Linked DNA regions of Homo sapiens: all the other regions are linked to region 4. Evidence: promoter capture Hi-C in 16 types of primary human blood cells and fetal thymus (Javierre and others, 2016). All regions are on one chromosome and are shown on one strand. Each heading gives the region's core, a stretch centred on a gene start or on the middle of the fragment in contact. The rest is flanking DNA. Distances are from core to core; before and after follow the strand shown. Region 1 overlaps GAB3 (GRB2 associated binding protein 3). Region 2 has its middle 22 kb from the start of MECP2. Region 3 has its middle 6.8 kb from the start of MECP2. Region 4 holds the start of GDI1 (GDP dissociation inhibitor 1).

Region 1 (6,035 bases), core at 2,949-5,448, 280 kb after region 4:
AGGGAGATTCAATTCTGACTCTCCATTGCCACCTAGCGTTAGAGTGTGGATATTTCAGTGGCAGATGGTGGAAACCATGCAGTAACTCTTAAAATGTTGAAGCAACTATAGATTACAGGATTTAGGGGCAAAGTTTTGTCTACTAGACTAAGAGGCTAAAAGAAACCAGATTCAAAATCTCATATTTTGAGGAATAGGACATGTTGCAATAATGTCAGGGGCTCAACAACAAAATCCATGAAGGGAAGTTAATTGTAACCCTAGGTTACAATATACCTGGAAAATTACATAGGATGAGTTGTGTGTGTGTGCGTGTGTGCGTGTGTGCGTGTGGCAGAGAGAGAGAGAGAGAGAGAGAGAGACTCTGGGGTACTCTTCATGGGTCAATTGCTCCCACTGCCCAGAAATGGCCCAGAGCAAACTTACAACTAATTTCCTCTGCAGAGAACTTGAGACATTTGGAGGTATCAGGAAATCTTTCTTGCCTACGATAAGTAGCCAAGTTCTCTCTTTCTACCATTTAGTGATGAACAACCCAATAGGCACCAGAAATGCTGGAGTTCCACAATATTTTGAAGTATGGCAATATTTGATATTTCTAGAAGGTCATGAGTGTCAGCATCATGGGAAGACATCCTCATCCACATTTGACTTTCACTGTGGCTGAATGAGAGCAAAGACATGAAGGGGTTTTAAAGCCATTAAAGTAACCTGCAATGCTCAGTGTGCTCATGGACTCTGCCTTCCCACATTTGGACTGGGTAAAAGAGGGCAATTTCCAGTATTGTATTTGGTAGGAACAGTTCTGATATAAATTAGCCTGCCAAAACACCCTCAAGGAGGCAGGCTTGGCATCTTGAACTGTTTTTCTGCAGTAACCCTCCAGTCCTGGGATACCCCTTAGCACATGGGAGCCCCAACTCCGCTCTTACCTGCACCATCCTCCAGGTGGCCAAGGTTGCAGACCTGACTGATGCTGTGCACCCACACCTGCATTTCTTGCTCAGTTTTGGCCACCAGGTAGAATGTACGGGAAGTAGTCTTGACAATGAACACGAAATTATTCTGAAATTCCTTCCGAACAAAGCTGGGGCCCACATGCTTCCACACTGCACACTCGCTGAGGTCTATCACCCGGATGGGCTTGCTGGAGTGCTTGTTCCTGTAGTACTCCAAGACATCGGGGTTGCCGCTCATGCGGCCTCGCCGGAGGACAAACCAGCGCTTGCGCCAGGCCTGCAGAAAGGCAATTCAATAAGGAGTTACTGGACCAATTTCTCTTGTTTCTCAGGCTATGCCAAGAACCCATGTCATGACAAGGACAGCAGGAAGGAAACAAATCAGCCATTCTAATGATGAAACGCTTTGTATTACAGGACTAGTGCCCATCTTCAAGTCCGCTTTATTGGATGATTTTAAGGACGGGTCAGGATTGGAGAGTCTAGTAATGGGATTCACACCCACAGTTTGAAGGGCCAGAATTATACAATCATTGAAATTGATGCAGCAAAGGAATGTAGTACAAATTTAACATATGCTGAAGCTTTAAAAGAATCTTAGCAATAAAGAACTAGAAGGAAGCTTTCTTACTATTATGTATCTCAGTTCAAGAGCCAATATCATACATTAAAATCAGATGAAAATCACAAATGCTCACCACTGCCCCAGTATCTTCCAACATTGCTATTTAAGTTCTACACAACTGGCCAAGAAGGAAAATCATACACATTGGAGAGGAGGAGAGAAGATTGCCAGTGTCTGAAGGTGACAAATTGTCTTCCATAAAACCCCCAATGATGATTAAAACACTAATAGAATTCTCAGAGAATTAACTAGCTTGGCTAGTTACACTTCCTATGTAAGAGACCCTTGTCTAAGCGCTTTACTGTAACCCATTTAATCCCTAAAACTATACTATGGGAGGGGTAACTATTACTATCTCCATCTTATGTCTGATAAAATTGAGGTTCAGAGAGATTAAGTAATGTGCTCAAGGTCACATAGCTAAACAACTGTAGGAATGAATTTGAACTCAGGTTGGGATGGAAGGATCGGTAATGGATGTGAAGTTAAAAAATAAAGAGAGAGAGGAAGTGTAGCCAGCTCTCCAGAAACATCTGACTGTAAAGGGGGAAAGCTCTGGGGTCAAGGGATTTTTTAAAGATGGGAGACTCTTAAGCATTCACCCCCTAAGTCACAGTGTTTTTCAACCAGGGATGGTATAATTCCTCTCGGGAGCATCTGAAAATATGTGGGTTTTGCTTGTTATAAAGGCTGGAGATGGAGTGGGGGGTGGGGCATGGCAGGATTGGCCTAAAGCTATCAGTGCCCCTGTTTTGAAACACTGTAAAAACAAAAAGGAATTTTCCTTAATGGAATAGGAATCTTGGAAAGAGCCAAGCCTGGAAGTCAGATGAACAGGTAAAGCTCAGTCCATGCTCAGAAAAGAAAAGAGAATGATATTCCACAGAAACCAGTGCCAAGATTTGACAGGTCTCTTTTTGTGCCCTGAGAACAACTGAGAATGACCTAGGGCTCCTTGGCTTCCCACTCACCATTGACTTAGAATTTTTGATGTAGACAGTACCATCTTGGCTCAGTACAAAGAAAGGGTGCAGATCTCTGGCCTGGGGAAAGAGGTATTTACAATTGACCAAAGCCCTAGGGAGTCCCCTGGATCTGTAAACCTCCCTGCCCTCTCATGGAGCCAGGGGGAAGGAAATGTTTGAGTTCCTTGTCTTACATTTAGGTGCCCTTTGTTCATCGAAGGGCCAGATAGGCCAGCCTGCATGGATAGCGTATCCTTACTTTCTGCGGTAGGGAACTATGGCATTAGCCCCAGTTGGGAATTGAGCACAGAGAAGGATGACGGCTGACCGCAGGGAGATTTATAGCTCTGTGGTTTTTCTCTCCCATGCGGTAGCATGTGTGACAGCAGGAAGTGTGGGGTTCTGCCAGGAGGTACAGCGACCCCTGGGACAGGAAGTCTTTTGTATCTCTAGCTTCATTTATGTGTGATACTTTTTAAGCCCACCAGCTTTGACCAAGAGGCCAGGGAAAAAGGAAAAGACACTATTTGGAGTATTCTCAGCTCCCTCCCTGCTCAGAGAACATGAATCTGAGATGGCAGAGAATCCAAAGAAGCACTGACCTCCAATTATGCCTTAGAATAAAAAGCCCTTCCAGGACTGAGGCAAGGGGCAGCAAGCAGAAGGAAGGCAGTCACTCCATGTCAGGTTGGGGCAGGTGAACCCTGGTTTGCTCCTGCCTTTACAGACAGTATAAAGCTTTGAAAAGAGGTCTGGCCATGAGTCAAACAAGGAGACCATCTCAGGAGACAAACAACGTGGTGTGATTAAGTCCATGTTTTTAAGACAGGAAAAATAACAGCATGTTTGTATGCTCGTGGGGGTGACCCAAGAGGGAGAGAAAAATTGATTCAGTAAATTCCTGTTGCAAAAACGTGGCACTGGATGGGAGTAGAGCCACTAAACATAAGAGAAGGAGCTCAAGTTTTGCTGTGGGGTTTGAAAGTGGGAAACCTGGGCTTCTGGCATCAACTGAGGCAAACAGGAACATAAGGCCTAGTCCAGGGAAGGGGCTCAGGGGATGAGAGAATGCCATTTGTGCCTGCTGAGGAAAGCTTTCATGGGGAGGGAGCATGGGGTGCTCCAAACTTTCCAAAAGCCACTTTGGTGGGGGAAATGTAAAGAGGAACTTTGTTGCACTTCCCAAAAATGATTCTAAAAGAGGAAGTCAAACTAAGCACAGAAACAAGTTTCACATTAACCGCTCTTAGTGTTATGGAGACAATAGATTTCTTATCTTTTAATAACAATATTGGAAGAGAAGTAACACCAAGAGTTTATTTGAGTGCCTACTCTGCACTGTGCATCCTGCTAGACAATGAAGCTAGAAAAGGGGATTAGAGCTGGTCCCTAAAAGACCTCACTCTCTAGCTGGGATAGGGAGAAGGGTAGAATTATGATATGGGTAGATTTCAACTCAGCGTAGTGAGCGGTCTAGCAGAAGAATGAACCAGGAGTGGTGGGAGTGCAATGGGAAGAGTGACATGAAGAAGTTTGGGCTTTATCCATTCATTCAACAATTACCTGTTGATAGCCCACTAATATGCTGGACACTGTGCAGATACTGGGGAAGATGAAGTGAGCAAGCCACATGCCCTGCCACTCACAGTCTCATGGGCAACAAGGGAGTGAGCAGATGGATAAACAGACGATTGCAATCAGTGAGATAAGTGCTACGATAAGGCAAAACCAAGATGCTATGGGAACAAACAAAAGAGACATCTCTCTCAGATCAGTTGTCTGGGGAGGCTTCCAGGAAGAAGTGGTGACTAAGCTAAGGCTAAAGTGGGGCAGGAGGAAGCAGCGTGCACAAAGGCATTAAGGTGGAAAGGCTCAAAACTTTGCGTAAGTAGTTCAGCAGGGCTGGAAGGCAGGCATGAGGGTGGAAAGGAAAAAGAACAGTCACACAGTAACTTAAATAGGACGTAGCATAGTCTTGATGCTGAATCATGCAAAATCGCCAGTGTGTCATCCCTTAGGTTTTTAAATCTCTACATAAGAGTTTTGATTATGCAAAAACAGAAGTGAGGTGTTCTTGGAGCTCTTTGCTAAGTAGGTAAAACCAGAGGCCACATATAGTTCTGTTCCACCAGGCTTACAGGCTTCTGGAAAATGGAAGACATGTGACAAAGCCCCTGAAAGCAGTCAGTCTGCCAGCACTAAAGTGAAGCTTTTTACAGTGAAACAATGCCACAAGGAATGACGAGGGCCATGTCAAAAGGACTTAGGGGCTAACCTGAAGAGGCTACCACTGGCCATATATGAAAGAATTTTTGCTTTCATAAATAGTCATATGCTGCATGACATAATAGTAACAATGAACCAAATATACAATGGTGGTCCTATAAGATTTTTTTTCAATCCTCCGAGACATCTGAATCCCAAAAGATTTAATACCATATTTTTATTGTACCTTTTCTATGTTTAGATACACAAATACCTACCATTGTGTTACAATTGCCTACAGTATTCAATATAGTACCATACTGTACAGGTTTGTAGCCCAGAAGCAACAGGCTATAACATATAGCCTAGGTGTGTAGTAAGCTAGGTTTGTGTAAGTACACCCTGTGATGTTTGCAAAGTGACTAAATCACCTAATGACACATTTCTCAGAACATATGCCCGTCATTGAATGATGCATGATTGTGTAATAATTATAGTAGCTTGAAATCCATCAAATACACTTAAATCCATGAGTTCATTATGATATTAGAAAAATAATTTGTCGTCAGGAGATCGAGACCATCCTGGCTAACACAGTGAAACCCCGTCTCTAATAAAAATACAAAAAATTAGCCGGGCGAGGTAGTGGGCGCCTGTAGTCCCAGCTACTCGGGAGGCTGAGGCAGGAGAATGGCGTGAACCCCGGGGGGCGGAGCCTGCAGTGAGCCGAGATCGCGCCACTGCACTCCAGCCTGGGCGACAGAGCGAGACTCCGTCTCAAAAAAAAAAAAAAAAAAAAAAAGCAAAAGAATTTGTCATCTTCAGAGGATGTAAGGGAACTACTTCATTTCCTTGAAAACTACTTAAGTAAAAGGGAAGAATCAAGCATTATCCAACCTTTCCTCTACGTGAACTGTCCCACTTGGGTAGATGAAGGGAATGTCTCTTTATGAATGTATTCTGATCAGTAATGGAAAAACAAATGACAGAATTAGAATATCCCTATTTGCTAGCCCCAGTGAATTAATAGGTATAGCCATTAAGCATCAACAGCTGCTAACTTGGGAAAAGAAACAATCAGACATTTTGTGCCTCTGATAGCCTGATATGAGGGTGCAATCAGCAGAAGCCAGCCTGTAGAAAACTCTACAGGTCAAAAGCCCAGGTTCTTCAATGGATAGGTTATAAGAAAAAGAAAAGCACAGGAAAGGAAGCAATCAATAAAATGAAAAGGCAACCTATGTACTGGGAAAAAATGTTTGCAAACTACATTAAGGGGTT
Region 2 (6,170 bases), core at 3,172-5,671, 320 kb before region 4:
CGACCCCCTGGTGCTTCCCCATGGGGCCTCGTGTGCCGGGCCGTGTCTCCCATGTCTAGGACCTGTGAGGATGATCGACTCTTTTTTCCTGAGCCTGTGCTGTTTCTCACTTGACTGACCGTTTCATTACAAAAATATAAGCCGGCCATTCTGCTTCCTGCCTCTACACTGAACTCTCCTTGGAAGCTCGTTGAACCTTCCTCATGTCCTCCGTGCTCTGAGATGTCATGGTGATGTGCCTGGGGGAGGCTCTGTTGTCAGCCACACGCAGGGCATACTGTGGGCCTTTTCCATTTGGCAGCTCCTGCCTTTCAGTCTGGGAGAACGACAAGAAGCTCTGGGGACATCAGATTCCCTAGAGAAGACACTTGTAACAAGCTGCCTGGAGGGCCGGGACCTGGTTGCAGAGATCTGGGAGCAGAGCAGGGGAGGGGACGTCGCTCAGTGCTTGCAGGCAGTGCCGGCTCACAGCGTCGCTCTGCTCCGGGTACAATTTCACTGCCTTCAATTGGACCTGGTGTCCCACAGTTCACTGACTCCTTTGCCCTCTCCAGAGAATAAAGTCCCCCATTTCTGTCAGGATGGAGGAGGCACAGTTGCCCAGGGGCACACGGGCAGAGAGGTTTGCCTGGGACTGAGGGCGTTCAGAGGACATGGGGCTGGCAGCACTGAAAGTGGCTGGGACAATAGGTTACCCTAGCACCCGGAGCTCAGAGTGCTTAGTAACCATTAGTAACCAGCTTTCACCCAGTCCTTTTTCTTTTCTTTTCTTTTCCTTTTTTTTTTTTTGACAGGGTCTTGCTCTGTCTCCCAGGCTGAAGTGCAGTGGCGTAATCTCAGCTCATTACAACCTCCGCCTCCCGGGTTCAAGCAATTATTGTGCCTCAGCCTCCAAAGTAGCTGGGATTACAGGCATGTGCCACCACGCCTGGCTAATTTGTGTATTTTTGATAGAGAAGGGGTTTTGCCATGTTGCCCAAGCTGGTCTGGAACTCCTGGGGTCAAGTGATCCACCTGCCTCAGCTTCCCAAAGTGCTGAGATTACAGGTGTGAGTCACTGCGGCCAACCTTCACCCAGTCCTCTTTATTTTAGTGCCCCCTCCGCCCCCAGCTCCAGTTCCTGGGCCCTGGGCTCCCTCTCTGCAGCTTGCCCTCTGACATTCGGAGAGCTGTTTGTCCGGCTCTCCAAACCTTGTTCCTGTTGTGTCATCCCCTGCCCTTCCCATTCATGTCGAGTTATGCCCCTTTTTTTCTCCCCAAAGCTGCTTTACTACAGCTTTACTGTTCAATCTGCATTCTCGACCCAGAATTAACCTCTCTGTGAATTTTTATATTCATAGCAGCTTTATTTGTAGTAGTTCTGACTGGAAACAACTCAAACGTCCTTCAGAGGGTGAATGATAAATTGTGGTACATCCATGCAAAGGAATACTATTCAGCAACCAAAAGGAATATGATATTCAAGCAGGCAACTACCTAAATGCATGTCAAAATAATTACACTGAAAGAGGCCACATTGAGAGGATATACTGTATGATTATATGGAACTCTAGAACATACAAACTAATCTATAGTGACAGAAAGCTGATCGGGGTTGCCCGGAGATTGGGATACGGGGAGTGTTGGGAGGGAGGATTTACAGAGATGCAGGAGGAAGCTCTTAGGGTTGATAGCTATGTTCATTACCTTGATTGTGGTGGTTTTAAGGGTGCATACCTGTGTCAAAATGGACCAAATGGTATACTTTATGTTATTTATTTTTTAAAATTAGAGATGGGGGTCTCACTATGTTGCCCAGGCTTCCCTATGTTTGTTGCCCAGGCTGGTCTTAAACTCCTGGGCTCAAGCAATCCTCCTGCCTTAGCCTCCGGAGTAGCTGGGATTACAGGCGCATGCCACGGTGCCCAGCAAAATTATATACTTTATTATTATCATTATTTTAGAGATAGGTCTCACTCTGTCTCCCAGGCTGGAGTACAGTGGCAATCATAGTTTACCGTAACCTTGAACTCCTGGGCTCAAGTGATCCTCCTGCCTTGGCCTTCCAAGTTGCTGGGGCCACAAGTGCATGCCACAATGCCTGGCTAGTTTTTAAATTTTTTGTAGCAACTAGGCTTCCCTATGTTTGTTGCCCAGGCTGGTCTCAAACTCCTGGCCTCAAGCAATCCTCCTGCCTCAGCCTCCCAAAGTGCTGAGATTGCAGGTGTGAGCCACCACACCCAGCCTCTGTATACTTTAAGCAACACACACTTTGTTTTATGTAGGCTATACCTTGATAAGGCTGTTTGAAATAGAGTGCATCAAATATATTGCGCAGTTTAAAGAACAATTCTAAATTGAACACCCATGCAACCATTTGCTTACCCCTAGTAATGGAGCTATTCTCATTTTATTCTTAAAGATTCATCGTTTTGCCCTTCATATTTAGGTTTTCAATCTGTGTAAAATTGATTTTTGTAATGGTGTGAAGTAGAGGTACAGCTTCCTTCCTTTTCCTTTTTTTACAGTTTCTCTTTCTTTCTCTTTTTTTTTTTTTTTCAGACAGTCTCAATCTGTCACCTAGGCTGGAGTGCAGTGGCGAGATCTCGGCTCACTGCAACCTCCACCCCCCGGGTTCAAGTGATTCTCCTGCCTCAGCCTCCCAAGTAGCTGGGATTACAGGCGTGTGCCACCACGTCCAGCTAACTTTTGTATTTTTAGTAGAGGCGGGGTTTCACCATGTTGGCCAGGCTGGTCTCGAACACCTGGCCTCAACTGATCCACCCGCCTCAGCCTCCCAAAGTGCTGGGATTACAGGCGTGAGCCACTGCGCTGGCCTTTTCTTGTTTATGATCTCCAGGGGATGCTTTCAACTTTTTGTCATTAAATATGATGATGCTATAACTATTTTAATAAATCCTTTGCTAAGGAAGTTCATTTTAATTCCTAGGCTCCTGACTTTTCTTTGTAATCATGAATGGATATTGAATTTTATCCAGTGCTTTTTCTGTGCTTATTGTGGTGATCATGTAATTGGTATTTTTTTTAATTTTTTTTGAGACAGGGTCTCGCTTTATCACCCAGGCTGGAGTGCAGTGGCATGATCTCAGCTCACTGCAGCCTCAACCTCCTGGGCTCAAGCGATCCTCTTGCCTCAGCTCCCCAAGTAGCTGGGATGACAGGCATGTGCCACCACCGGCAATTTGTGTGTGTGTGTGTGTGTGTGTGTGTGTGTGTGTGTGTGTGTGTCTATTATTTGTAGAGATGAGGTTTCACCATGTTAACCAGGCTGGTCTCAAACTCCTGAGTTCAAGCAATCTGCCTGCCTTAGCCTCCCAAAGTGCTAGGCTTACTGACATGAGCCACCATGCCCTGCTGATCATGTAATTTTTCTTCTTTAACATTAATTTGGTTAATTACAATAAATGATTTTATATTATTAAACTAACTTTGCACTCCTGAGATAAACACATCTTGGTCACCATGTATTATCTTTTTTTTTCCTTTTGTTTGGTTTTTTTTGAGACAGCATCTCGCTCTGTCTCCCAGGCTGGAGTGCAGTGGCACAATCTCGGCTCACTGCAACCTCCACCTCCTGGGTTCAAACGATTCTCCTGCCTGACCCTCCCGAGTAGCTGGGATTATAGGTGCACGCCACCAGGCCCAGCTAATTTTTTGTATTTTTAGTAGAGACTGGATTTCGCCATGTTGGCCAGGCTGGTCTTGAACTCCTGACCTCAGGTGATCCACCCGCCTCAGCCTCCCAAAGTGCTGGGATTACAGGCGTGAGCCACCGTGCCCAGTCCAGTCACCATGTATTATCTTTTTTACATATTGCTAGTATTCTGTTTGGGATTTCTGAATCTCTGCCTACAAGTGAAGTTGGCTTATAATTTTCTTTCTCATAATGTCCTTGACAGGTTTTGGTTTCAAGGTTATGTTTGCCTTCTAACAAGAGTGGAGCCTCTTTTTCTTAATTCTCTGAAAGAGTTTGTGTAAAATTAGAACTATTGCTTCTTGAATATTTGATAGATCTTGCTGATGAAGTCATCTAGGCCTAGAGTTTGGTTTGAACGGAAGATATTTTATTACTAACAAAAAATTTATAATTATATGACTATTTAGGGTCTTTGCTTTTTCTTGAGTCAATACTGGTAATTTCTTTTTCTAGGACTTTGTTCATTTCAACTGTATTTTCAAATGTATTGGCACAAAGTTATTCACAATAGCCATTACTTTAAAATCCTGTCTGCATCTGTGGTTATAGCCATTTTCCATTCATAGTATAGTTTCCATGTGCCTTTTCTCTTGTTTCTCTCAATGAGGACTGTAAATGTCATTAGTCCTGCCAGGGAAGCTTCTGCCTCTGACAGGCGTCACTGCTTTGCTCCCTGCTCTAAGGAGTCACCTGTGTGAAGTTTTTCCTTTTCCCATCAATCATGTCGCCATCCTCCTGGCAACAGTATAGATTGGTGTCTGACGTAGGAATGACACAAAGACCCCATCCAAAAGTAGCCAAACTTTATTTCAAGCTTAAGAAAATGCATATTTTCTCCAAACTTAAGCAGAACATTGTTATGAGAAAAAAACTGGACTTTCTTGCACTGTATTTCTTTTTTAGGGGGAGGGGGGAAGGGGAGATGGAGTCTCGCTCTGTCGCCCAGGCTGGAGAGCAGTGGTGCGATCTTGGCTCACTGCAACCTCCGCCTCCTGGGTTCAAGCAGTTCTCTGCCTCAGCCTCCCAAGTAGCTAGGATTACAGGCGCCCACCATCACGCCCGGCTAATTTTTGTATTTTTAGTAGAGACAGGGTTTCACCATGTTGGCCAAGCTGGTCTTGAACTCCTGACCTCATGATCCACCCGCCTCGGCCTCCCAAAGTGCTGGGATTACAAGCGTGAGCCACCGCACCCGGCCTCTTGCACTGTATTTCTGTTGGAAGATCACAACCATGTTGCTCATTCTTTCTTATTAAGATTCCCATATCTGGTGTTTCTTGGAGATGTATCTAGGTCAACATGACCCAGGTTTAACCCAAACAACTCATAAAAACATGGCAGACTTTTAGCCCTTGGGAAATGAACTTGCTTTGGCCCTACTGAAGAGACTCATTTAAACCCTCCTCTTCCTCTGAAGCCTGTCCCTGAGAACTCCACCTTCCCTTTCTCTTTTCAGGCTGCCTGGCTGCACTTGGACCTACGCTCATCATCTCTTTGGCTGTTTCCATTGTTTAGAGGTTCCCCTCAATGTCCCTGGCCTCAGGATAGCTGCCACTGGAGCACAGCCCTGGCCTGGGAAGTCCCAGCAGGACCCCAGAGGCTCCTTGAGTCTCTTACCTTCCTTCCCAGGAGGACTGTCACTGAGGGGGGAGCCGAACTTTGGTCACAGCAATTGAGCTGCTTTCTAAGCTCTCATCTGTCCAAGTGTGATGTCCACTGGAAGTTTCTGGTCCTTTGGCCCATTTTGATTAGTTCCTCTTGTCTTCCAGGGTGAGAGACCAAAAGTCCTGTTTCTGTAAATCATGGCTGTGTGCCAGTATACAAAACTGACAAGACCCCTTAGGACATTTGTCTTCCAATTTTGAAACCGGAAGCCTGGATGAAGTGTCCTGTCTCCCAGATTGAAATCTTGGAAAACCTGTTTGTGACACCATTGGTTATCTTCTCTGTGCTTCCCGTCTGTGGCCAGAATTGTGCCCAAGAGCCTGGGCCAGAGCCAGCCGAGTAGCCCTGCCCTGTGGACCCAGGGGTCTTTTTATAGTTAACTTGTAGCTACAGCTGGAGAACTGGTTCTGCCTGTCTTCTGTGGTTTCCTGGCTGTGCACACTACTGAGTCGTCACCGAAGGGGATCAGGGCTTGTTCCGTGCCTGTGTTCTCCAGGGAACAGGATCACAAGACAGCTGTCCCCGGGATAATGGACTCTTGGGAAGAATTTGGCTCCTGGGGGGGGTGGCTCGAGGGCACCCGAGACATCTCAATCATGGTCATGCGGGTCTGAGTCTTGTACTGGGAGGGAAGCGAGTGAGTGGTGGCCAGCTCGGCCTGTCTGGCCCCCATGAGACTGACCTCTACTTGAACTCCTTGAGGCTGGTCCTTCTGCTCTGAATAACTAGAGAAATCCCAGGAAAATACATACATTGGATTGCATGGAATAAGGTGATGGGATGGCAGAAGAAGCTGTGGGAGCCAGTG
Region 3 (5,843 bases), core at 1,602-4,101, 330 kb before region 4:
TTGAGTCCAGGAGTTCAAGGCCAGCCTGGTTAACATGGCAAGACCACTGTCTCTAAAAAAACAAAAAATTAGCCAGGCATGGTTGTGCACACTTGTCATCTCAGCTTCTTGGGAGGCTGGGGTGGGAGGATCACTTGAGCCCAGGAGTTTGAGGCTGCAATGAGCCAGGATCGTGCCATTGCACTTTGGCCTGGGTGACAGAGTGAGACCCTGTCTCGAAAAAAGAAAGAGAAGGAAGGGAGGGAGGGAGGGAGGGGAAAAAAAGTTCAACATCACTCATCATCAGGGAAATTCAAATCAAAAGCCCAATGAGATACCCCTTCAATTCAGTTAGAATGGCTTTAATCAAAAAGACAAAAGAAGACAAGTTGGCAAAGATGTGGAGAAAAGGGAATACTTTCATACTGTTGGTGGGGTAGTAAGTTAGTATAGTCAACTATGGAGAACAGTATGGAGGTTTCTCAATAAATTGAAAATAGAACTACCAGCAATCCTACTACCGGTATATATCCAAAGGAAATGAAATCAGTATGTGGAAGAGTTATCTGCACTCCCATTTTTATTGAATGACTATTCACAATAGCCAGATACAGAATCAACTTAGGTGTCCACCAACAGGTGAATGGATAAAGAAAATGTGGTACATATATGCAATGGAATAATATTCGGCCATAAAAAAGAATGAAATCCTGTCACTTAAGACAACATGAATGAACCTGGAGGACATAAAGTTAAGGGAAATAAACCAGAAACAGAAAGACAAATACCACATGATCTCAGTCATATGTGGAATCTCAAAAACAAAAAAGAGTTGATATCATAGAAGCAGAGAGTAGAACAGTAGTTACCAGAGACTGGGGAGAGGATCGGGGAGAGGAGGATGGGCAGAGGTTGGTCAACAGGTACAAAGTTATTATTAGATAAGATGAATAAATTCTGGTGTTTTGACCAGGTGCAGTGGCTCACGCTTGTAATCCCAGCACTTTGGGAGACTGAGGTGGGTGACTCACTTGAGGTCAGGAGCTTGAGTGCAGCCTGGCCAACATGGTGAAACCCCATTTCTACTAAAAATACAAAAATTAGCTGGGCATGGCGGCGGGTGCCTATAGTCCCAGCTGCTTGGGAGGCTGAGGCAGGAGAATCGCTCGAACCCAGGAGGCAGAGCAACCTGGTGAGCTGAGATCACACCACTGCACTCCAGCCTGGGTGACACAGCGAGATTCTGTCTCAAAAAAAAAAATTATGTTGTTCTATTGCACAGCAGGGTGACTATGGTTGACAGCAATATATTGTATGTTACAAAATACCTAGAAGAGAGACTTTTGAAAGTTCCCACAACAAAGAAATGGTACATGCATGAGCTGATGGATATATTAACTACCCTGCTTGGACCATTGTGCAACATAAATATATATTGAAATATCAAATTGTACTCCCTAAATATGTGTCAATTAAAAAACAAAAATAAAAAGCCCCACATACATCCTTCTTCCATTCTCTTTTAAACCTCATTCTTGGTGCGTCTCTGCGGGGAGAAAGGCCCATTTCAAGTCAGTTCCCCGGTGTTAGGATGCAGGCATGTAAACACGACCAGTAATAAAAAGCTGGAAAATGTAATGAGGGAAAAAAGATTCAACTCACTCTCACTACAAAAATTATAAAACAGCTGGGAATAAACTTAATAAGAAATGTCAAAACCTGCATCAAAAAGCTATAAAACTTTACTGAAAAATCTAAAAGAAGACCTGAAGAAAACAAAAACAAAAACAGACGCTACCGTATTCCTGGAGGGGAAGCATTAACATTATAGAAATGTTAATTCTTCATCAATAACTCTGGAAATTCTTTGCTCAATCAAAAGTCAAGAAGTTTCATGGGCTATAACAACTTAAATCTAGATTGGAAAGAATAATGTACAAGACTAGAACTCAAGAAGTTTTTGAAATATTAAAAAATAATGAAGAGAATCTTGCTAAATTCCTTAGGTTGAATAGAAGGAACTTAAGTTATACAGTTTCACACTTGCCATTGAAAAGTAGAAAAATATACTATAATCGGCTGGGCATGGTGGCTCACGTCTGTAATCCCAGCACTTTGAGAGGCCGAGGCGGGCAGATCACGAGGTCAGGAGATCGAGACCATTCTGGCTAACAAGGTGAAACCCCGTCTCTACTAAAAATACAAAAAATTAGCCGGGTGTGGTGGTGGGCGCCTGTAGTCCCAGCTACTTGGGAGGATGAGGCAGGAGAATGGGGTGAACCCAGGAGGCGGAGCTTGCAGTGAGCCGAGATCGTGCCACTGCACTCCAGCCCGGGTAACAGAGCAAGACTCCATCTCAAAAAAAAGAAAAAAAAGAAAAATATACTATAATCAAAATTATTTACTATTAGAATTAAAAATCAGTAATTTAAAAAATGGGACTGTAATAGTTTAAGGTCCTCTTAAAAACAGGACTGTAGAAGATAAAAACCAGGAAAATCTAGTATAGATGGTAATTGACAGAAAGCCCACAACCAGAAGGATTTTATCAATATGACAAACAACACAAACTTTTACTCCATTTGTCTAAAAATCTCTTAAACTGATAGAGAATATATATATTTCAGAAGAGCTAATCCAGGCCAGGGGCGCTGGCTCATGCCTGTAATCCCAGCACTTTGGGAGGCCAAGGCAGGAGGATCGCTTGAGCCCAGGAGTTCGAGATCAGCCTGGGCAACAAAGTGAGACCCCGTTTTTCCCAAAAATGAAATAAATTAGCTGGGCACGTGCGCACCTGTAGTCCTAGCTACTCAACAGGCTGAGGTGGGATCATGCCACTGCACTCCAGCCTGGGAGAAAGAGCAAGCCCCTGTCTCTAAAAACAAAAGAAATGACCAACATTGAGAGCCCTACATATTAAAACCTAGGAGATAAGGCTACAGAGGTCACCTAGAAAAATTAATAGCCTTAACCATATTTGTTAGAAAATAGATAAGAAATGAATAAATTCTGATATAAGACACCATGAGCAGGCACAGATGTGCATGAACACACACACACCCAGACACACAGACACACACACACAGTCACATACACAGACACACAGACACACACACAGACACACAGACACAGACACACACACACACACACAGTTTTCCTTCTTTACTCATAGAAGTGCACTAAAAGAAGAATGTCAAGAAACAGAAAGGAGGCAGGGTGTGGTGGCTCATGCCTGTAATCCCAGCACTTTGGGAAGCCAAGGAGGGTGAATTGCTTGAGGTCAGGAGTTCGAGACCAGCTTGGCCAACATGGTGAAACCCTGCCTCTGCTAAAAATACAAACAATTAGCCAGGCCTGGTGGCACGCACCTGTAATCCCAGCTACTTGGGAGGCCGAGGCAGGAGAATCGCTTGAACCCAGGAGGCAGAGGTTGCAGTGAGCCGAGATCGTGCCATTGCACTCCAGCCTGGGTGACAGAGCAAGACTCCGTCTGAAAAAAAAAAAAAAAGGAAAGGAATAAACCCACCAGAGTGAAGAGAATGTGGTGAGGATGAGAGGTTATCATCAAAGGACAACAACTTTATAGAAAGCATATGGGAATTGATTGATGAATAAAATAGGCAGTAAAAATCCAGGTGAGAATATTTGACAAGGGAGCCACAGAAGAAGTGGGAGTGAGTTTGCTAGATATAACACCAGACAATCAGAATCAGTAGGCATGTGGTAGAAAACGATAGAATTAAATAGGACTGAACACATGGGGATTAATTGAAGGCACCAGTACAGAATGACTGTACCAGTTGGAACCTCCTCTCCCCACCAGACAGCTGAGCTGGGAGCTGGCACAGACCTACAGGGAAAACACCTGACAGTTCTGTAAAGAAATTGATTGAAATGTCGGTGGAGAGCTAAGGCTTCCAGCATGGATGCTGACAACCCCTGAACAATTGTTTCCTCATTCCGGCATCTAGGGGATACTCTGTTCGTCACCTCCCTGTCCTACACAGAGAAGAGTCACAGCAGGAAAACAGACCTATTTGCCCAACAGCAGATTAAATCCACAATACTTATCCAGTCCTTCCTTATTAAATATAAACCAGTCAGTAAATATTATCAGAAATTTGATGAAAGCCTTCAACAGGAAAAAGAGTCAAGATAAACCTGTAGAAAAAATATAAACTTGGAATTCAAGAAAATTCAGGGAATGTATCAAAAAATTTAATTTAATTAACATATCTACAGAACTAAAAGAAAATGCTGTATTCATAAAACAAGAACAGAATATTATGTAAAAAGAGCAATCAGAGAACAAGAAGGAATTATTGAAATTCAAATTTCAATAGAAATATTGGAAAATAAAACTGAAGAAGTCTCCCAGAAAATAGAACAAAACAATAGAGACAAAGATATGAGAGAAAATATGAGGACTTTGAGGAGTGATCTAGGAAGTCTGGCAAGCAACTAACAAGAATTATGGAAAAATGAAATAAAGAAAAAGGAACAGGAATCAGAGTAGCACCAGAGTTCATAACAACACTGAATGATAAAAGATCACAGGACAACAAGAAAAGAAAAAGATAATAGGGCAATGCTTTCCAAATTCCAAGGGAAAATGATTTTCCACATAGAAGTACACCATCCAAAATATCCATTATGTGTGATAATGGAATAAAAATGTTTTTAGATACACAAGAGCTAAGAAAATTTGCCTCTGAAATGTACTTTCTTAGGAAGCTACTTGGGGATGCTCTGCAGCAAATCAAGGGTGCAAGCCAAGAAAAAGGAAAATGTGGGATCCATAAGACAATGGATCTAATCCAGGAGAGCTGTGATGGGAAATACCAGGGATGCCAACTGGGCAGAAAGCCTGGTTGGCAATCAGTCCAGGTTGGAGTAGGAGAATGGTAGGCTCTGGGAGAGAGGACTCCAAGAATTAAATATATATGTATAGCCGGGTGTGGTGGCTCACGCCTGTAATCCCAGCACTTTGGGAGACTGAGGCGGGTGGATCACCTGAAGTCAGGAGCTCGAGACCAGCCTGGCCAACGTGGCGAAACCCCGTCTCTACTAAGAATACAAAAATTAGCCGGGCATGGTGGCGGGTGCCTGTAATCCCAGCTACTCAGGAGGCTGAGGCAGGAGAATCGCTTGAACCTGGGAGGCAGAGGTTGCGGTGAGCCGAGCTTGCGCCACTGCACTCCAGCCTGGGCGACAGAGTGAGACTCCGTCTCAAAAAAAAAAAAAAAAAAAATTGTGTATATGTGAATTCAACATATTAGATGGTGTGATTGGGAGTCTGAAGTTGGATACGATGATGGCAAATAGTACAAGAAAATAAGGAAAAGCAATTAAAAATACCAGAAGGAAAGAACTATACAAGAAAGTTATGATCCGCAAGGAGCCGTGGCTCACGCCTGTAATCCCAGTACTTTGGGAGGCCAAGGCGGGCGGATCACGAGTTCAGGAGATCGAGACCATCCTGGCTAACGCAGTGAAATCCCATCTCTACTAAAAAATACAAACATTTAGCCGGGCGTGGTGGCGGGTGCCTGTAGTCCCAGCTACTCGGGGGCTGAGGCAGGAGAATGGCGTGAACCCGGGAGGCGGAGGTTGCAGTGAGCCGAGATAGCGCCACTGCACTCCAGCCTGGGCGACAGAGTGAGACTCCATCTCAAAAAAAAAAAAAAAAAAAAGAAAGTTATGATCAAAACAAGAAGCAGGCCGGGCACAGTGGCTCAAGTCTGTAATCCCAGCACTTTGGGGGTCCGAGGTGGGCAGATCACTTGAGGCCAGGAGTTCAAGACCAGCCTGGCCAACATGGCGAAACCAACATGTCCCTACTAAAAATATAAAAATTAGCTGGG
Region 4 (2,917 bases), core at 418-2,917:
GATGCTTCAGGACTTCCAGGTATGGAGCGGGCGTGGCCCAGCTTCAGGTGGGGGAGCCCAGGCTAGTGGTTGAGAGACGAAGAGAGGCTTGGGCTTGGGCATGTAGTTGAGAGTCCTGTCCCTGCGCTGCCCCTGTCCCAGTTCTTGCTGGGCCTCCCAACGGTCCTTTCTGACCCGTGTCTGTGTGTCTGCCAGATCCAGGCTTTCAACGTAATGGGGGAGCAGTTCTCCTACGCCAGCGACTGTGCCAGCTTCTTCTCCCCCGGCATCTGGATGGGGCTGCTCACCTCCCTGTTCATGCTCTTCATCTTCACCTATGGCCTGCACATGATCCTCAGCCTCAAGACCATGGATCGCTTTGATGACCACAAGGGCCCCACTATTTCTTTGACCCAGATTGTGTGACCCTGTGCCAGTGGGGGGGTTGAGGGTGGGACGGTGTCCGTGTTGTTGCTTTCCCACCCTGCAGCGCACTGGACTGAAGAGCTTCCCTCTTCCTACTGCAGCATGAACTGCAAGCTCCCCTCAGCCCATCTTGCTCCCTCTTCAGCCCGCTGAGGAGCTTTCTTGGGCTGCCCCCATCTCTCCCAACAAGGTGTACATATTCTGCGTAGATGCTAGACCAACCAGCTTCCCAGGGTTCGTCGCTGTGAGGCGTAAGGGACATGAATTCTAGGGTCTCCTTTCTCCTTATTTATTCTTGTGGCTACATCATCCCTGGCTGTGGATAGTGCTTTTGTGTAGCAAATGCTCCCTCCTTAAGGTTATAGGGCTCCCTGAGTTTGGGAGTGTGGAAGTACTACTTAACTGTCTGTCCTGCTTGGCTGTCGTTATCGTTTTCTGGTGATGTTGTGCTAACAATAAGAAGTACACGGGTTTATTTCTGTGGCCTGAGAAGGAAGGGACCTCCACGACAGGTGGGCTGGGTGCGATCGCCGGCTGTTTGGCATGTTCCCACCGGGAGTGCCGGGCAGGAGCATGGGGTGCTTGGTTGTTTCCTTCCTAATAAAATAAACGCGGGTCGCCATGCGTTGGGCCTCTTGTCGCTCATTTCTGCGCTGGGCTTTAGGCGCGTGCTCGCCGGAGGGATGCGGGAGGATGGAGCCTGGCGAGGGGGAGGCGAAGAGGCATCCGCGGAGACCGGGAGGGGCTTTAGCAAGCTGGGCCCTAACCGCTCAGGGTAGGGAGGGGCGGTCGGGCCGAGTCCCGGTGCGCTTCGGCGTCTCAGGAGGCCGTCGTGACAATGGCAGCCTTCGCGTCGTGAGGGGGCCGCCCCAGGCTGCCGCAGCGGCGCGCGCCCGGCCGCGGGGCCGCGCCGAGACTCCCGGGGGGGTGGGCGGGGGTGGGGAGGTGGGCGGGCGCGCGCGGGGCGGGGCGGGGCGGGGCGCGGCGGGTGGGGCGGGGCGCGCGCGGCTCCCGCGCACGGATTCTTCCTGGGCCGCAGCACCGGCCGCCGGCCCGCCCCGCCCGCCCCGCCCCGCGCCTCTCTAGACTCTCGGCGAGCAGCGTCGCCCGCGGAGCCGCGCTGGTGCTGTGGCCCGGGCCCTGGCAGCCCTCCCGGGAGGCGAGCCGGGGAGGCGGTGGCCCCTGCCGGTTGCGGCGGGGCGCGGGAAGAGGCGGGACTCTTTGACGCGGCGGAGGGGTCGGGCGACGGCCGACGCGCCGCCATCTTTGGTCCAGTGCGGTGGCGGCGGCGGCGGTGGCGGCGGCGACTGCTGCGGTGAAGGAGGAGGAGGAGCCGAGCGGGCGCTGGCACCGAGGCCTGACCATGGACGAGGAATACGATGTGATCGTGCTGGGGACCGGTCTCACCGTAAGTGCGGCCCCGGCGCCCCTGGCCCTGCGTCGTGCCCTCGCCATCCCCCGCGATGATGCGGCCGCCGGCCCATCCTCTGGTCACTGCCATCTTCTGCGCTCCGCTCCCCGAAAAGCCGGCGCCGTGCCCACCCCGCTGCTCCCCCAGCGACGTCGCCTCTGCTCGTTGCCATGACCCCATCTCCCCGAAGAGGCCCCCTTCCTGGCCGCCTCCTGGGCTACCCGGGTCCGACCCCCGGCGCCCTCCCATCTTCCCTACCCCTGCCCGCTGGACCGGAAAACGCACCCCCACTCGGCCCGATGCCCACGACCCCGCCCACCCATCGCCCCCACCCATCACGGCATCCACCCGTCGCCCGCACCCATTGCCCGCCTAGCGTTGCCTCTCAGCGTCCGTTCCCATCTTGCGCTAATCCCGGTGGGGATGAAGTAGAAGGACCTGGGGTCAGGGGGCCTCGCCAGAGTGGGCCCTCAGCCCGCCTCCTCATCGTCTTCTGGGGCCAGGGGATCCAGGGAATGTTCCAGAAGGAACAGCAGTGGGGGCAGTAAGCACATTCCCGCAACCCCACCTCGGTTGCCCATGGAGACCTCAGGCTGGGTAGCATCTGCAGCCTTTGTCCTTGGGCTAGTGACAGTGACTGGTGAGGGTGTTTATCTTCCCCCTTTCCCCGAAAACCCCGTTGGCCTACTCCCCTCAGAGACTCTTCTTCCTCGGTCCAGGCCCAGATGCCCCTCCTCAGCGGCAGGGGCTCCTGCTATTTGAAGAAAGAGCAGTCCAGGGTGGGGCCTACAATTTCAAGGACTGTGCTAAGCCTTTCTTTTCCTCCCTTTCGAGTGTCCTTTGCAGTCCAGCTGGGTCTTCTCTGTGCCTTATTGTGTTTTATCCGCCTTTTTGTGCGGCTCTGCGTAGGTAGATGCCTCTCGGCGTGTTGGTACTGGAAGGCCATCCTGTGTCTGCTGGATGCCCTGCCTCCCTCAAAGCCTCCGTTATTTCACTCTCCGCCTTGTGAGGGGGACGGGACTCCTTTGCCCAGCAAGGTTGCAATGGAGAGTGTGGTCGGATGAAGCCATCACCCCAATTTTAGGCGAGGCAACTAGCCAG

The links. Contacts are between HindIII fragments. The CHiCAGO score rates a contact against its expected background, and 5 or more counts as called.
Region 1: a contact is called between a fragment that was not itself captured here and the fragment with the promoter of GDI1 in region 4, in 2 of 17 cell types (M1 macrophages and M2 macrophages). The highest score is 6.5, in M1 macrophages.
Region 2: a fragment that was not itself captured here is called in contact with the fragment with the promoter of GDI1 in region 4 in 7 of 17 cell types (total B cells, naive CD8 T cells, activated CD4 T cells and 4 more); the score reaches 9.9 in total B cells.
Region 3: a contact is called between a fragment that was not itself captured here and the fragment with the promoter of GDI1 in region 4, in 3 of 17 cell types (monocytes, naive CD8 T cells and activated CD4 T cells). The highest score is 8.8, in monocytes.

What each region holds. Positions count from the first base shown.
Region 1 is chrX:154,715,094-154,721,128 of GRCh38, forward strand. It overlaps GAB3 (GRB2 associated binding protein 3), which reads right to left. Exons shown (of 10, transcript NM_001081573.3): 2 at 933-1,236. Among named protein-coding and RNA genes, the nearest start is that of GAB3, 33 kb to the right of the region's middle. RefSeq lists a silencer at 3-112 and an enhancer at 4,261-4,555. The HindIII fragment of the contact is 1,115 bases long and covers 3,642-4,756 here.
Region 2 is chrX:154,116,340-154,122,509 of GRCh38, forward strand. No RefSeq gene overlaps it. Among named protein-coding and RNA genes, the nearest start is that of MECP2, 22 kb to the left of the region's middle. The HindIII fragment of the contact is 175 bases long and covers 4,335-4,509 here.
Region 3 is chrX:154,101,570-154,107,412 of GRCh38, forward strand. No RefSeq gene overlaps it. Among named protein-coding and RNA genes, the nearest start is that of MECP2, 6.8 kb to the left of the region's middle. The HindIII fragment of the contact is 9,158 bases long and covers 1-5,843 here.
Region 4 is chrX:154,435,487-154,438,403 of GRCh38, forward strand. GDI1 (GDP dissociation inhibitor 1) reads left to right here and starts at 1,668. Exons shown (of 11, transcript NM_001493.3): 1 at 1,668-1,813. The coding sequence starts at 1,769. ATP6AP1 (ATPase H+ transporting accessory protein 1) reads left to right here. Exons shown (of 10, transcript NM_001183.6): 9 at 1-19; 10 at 196-1,030. The coding sequence ends at 405. RefSeq lists an enhancer at 1,200-1,700. The HindIII fragment of the contact is 14,364 bases long and covers 1-2,917 here.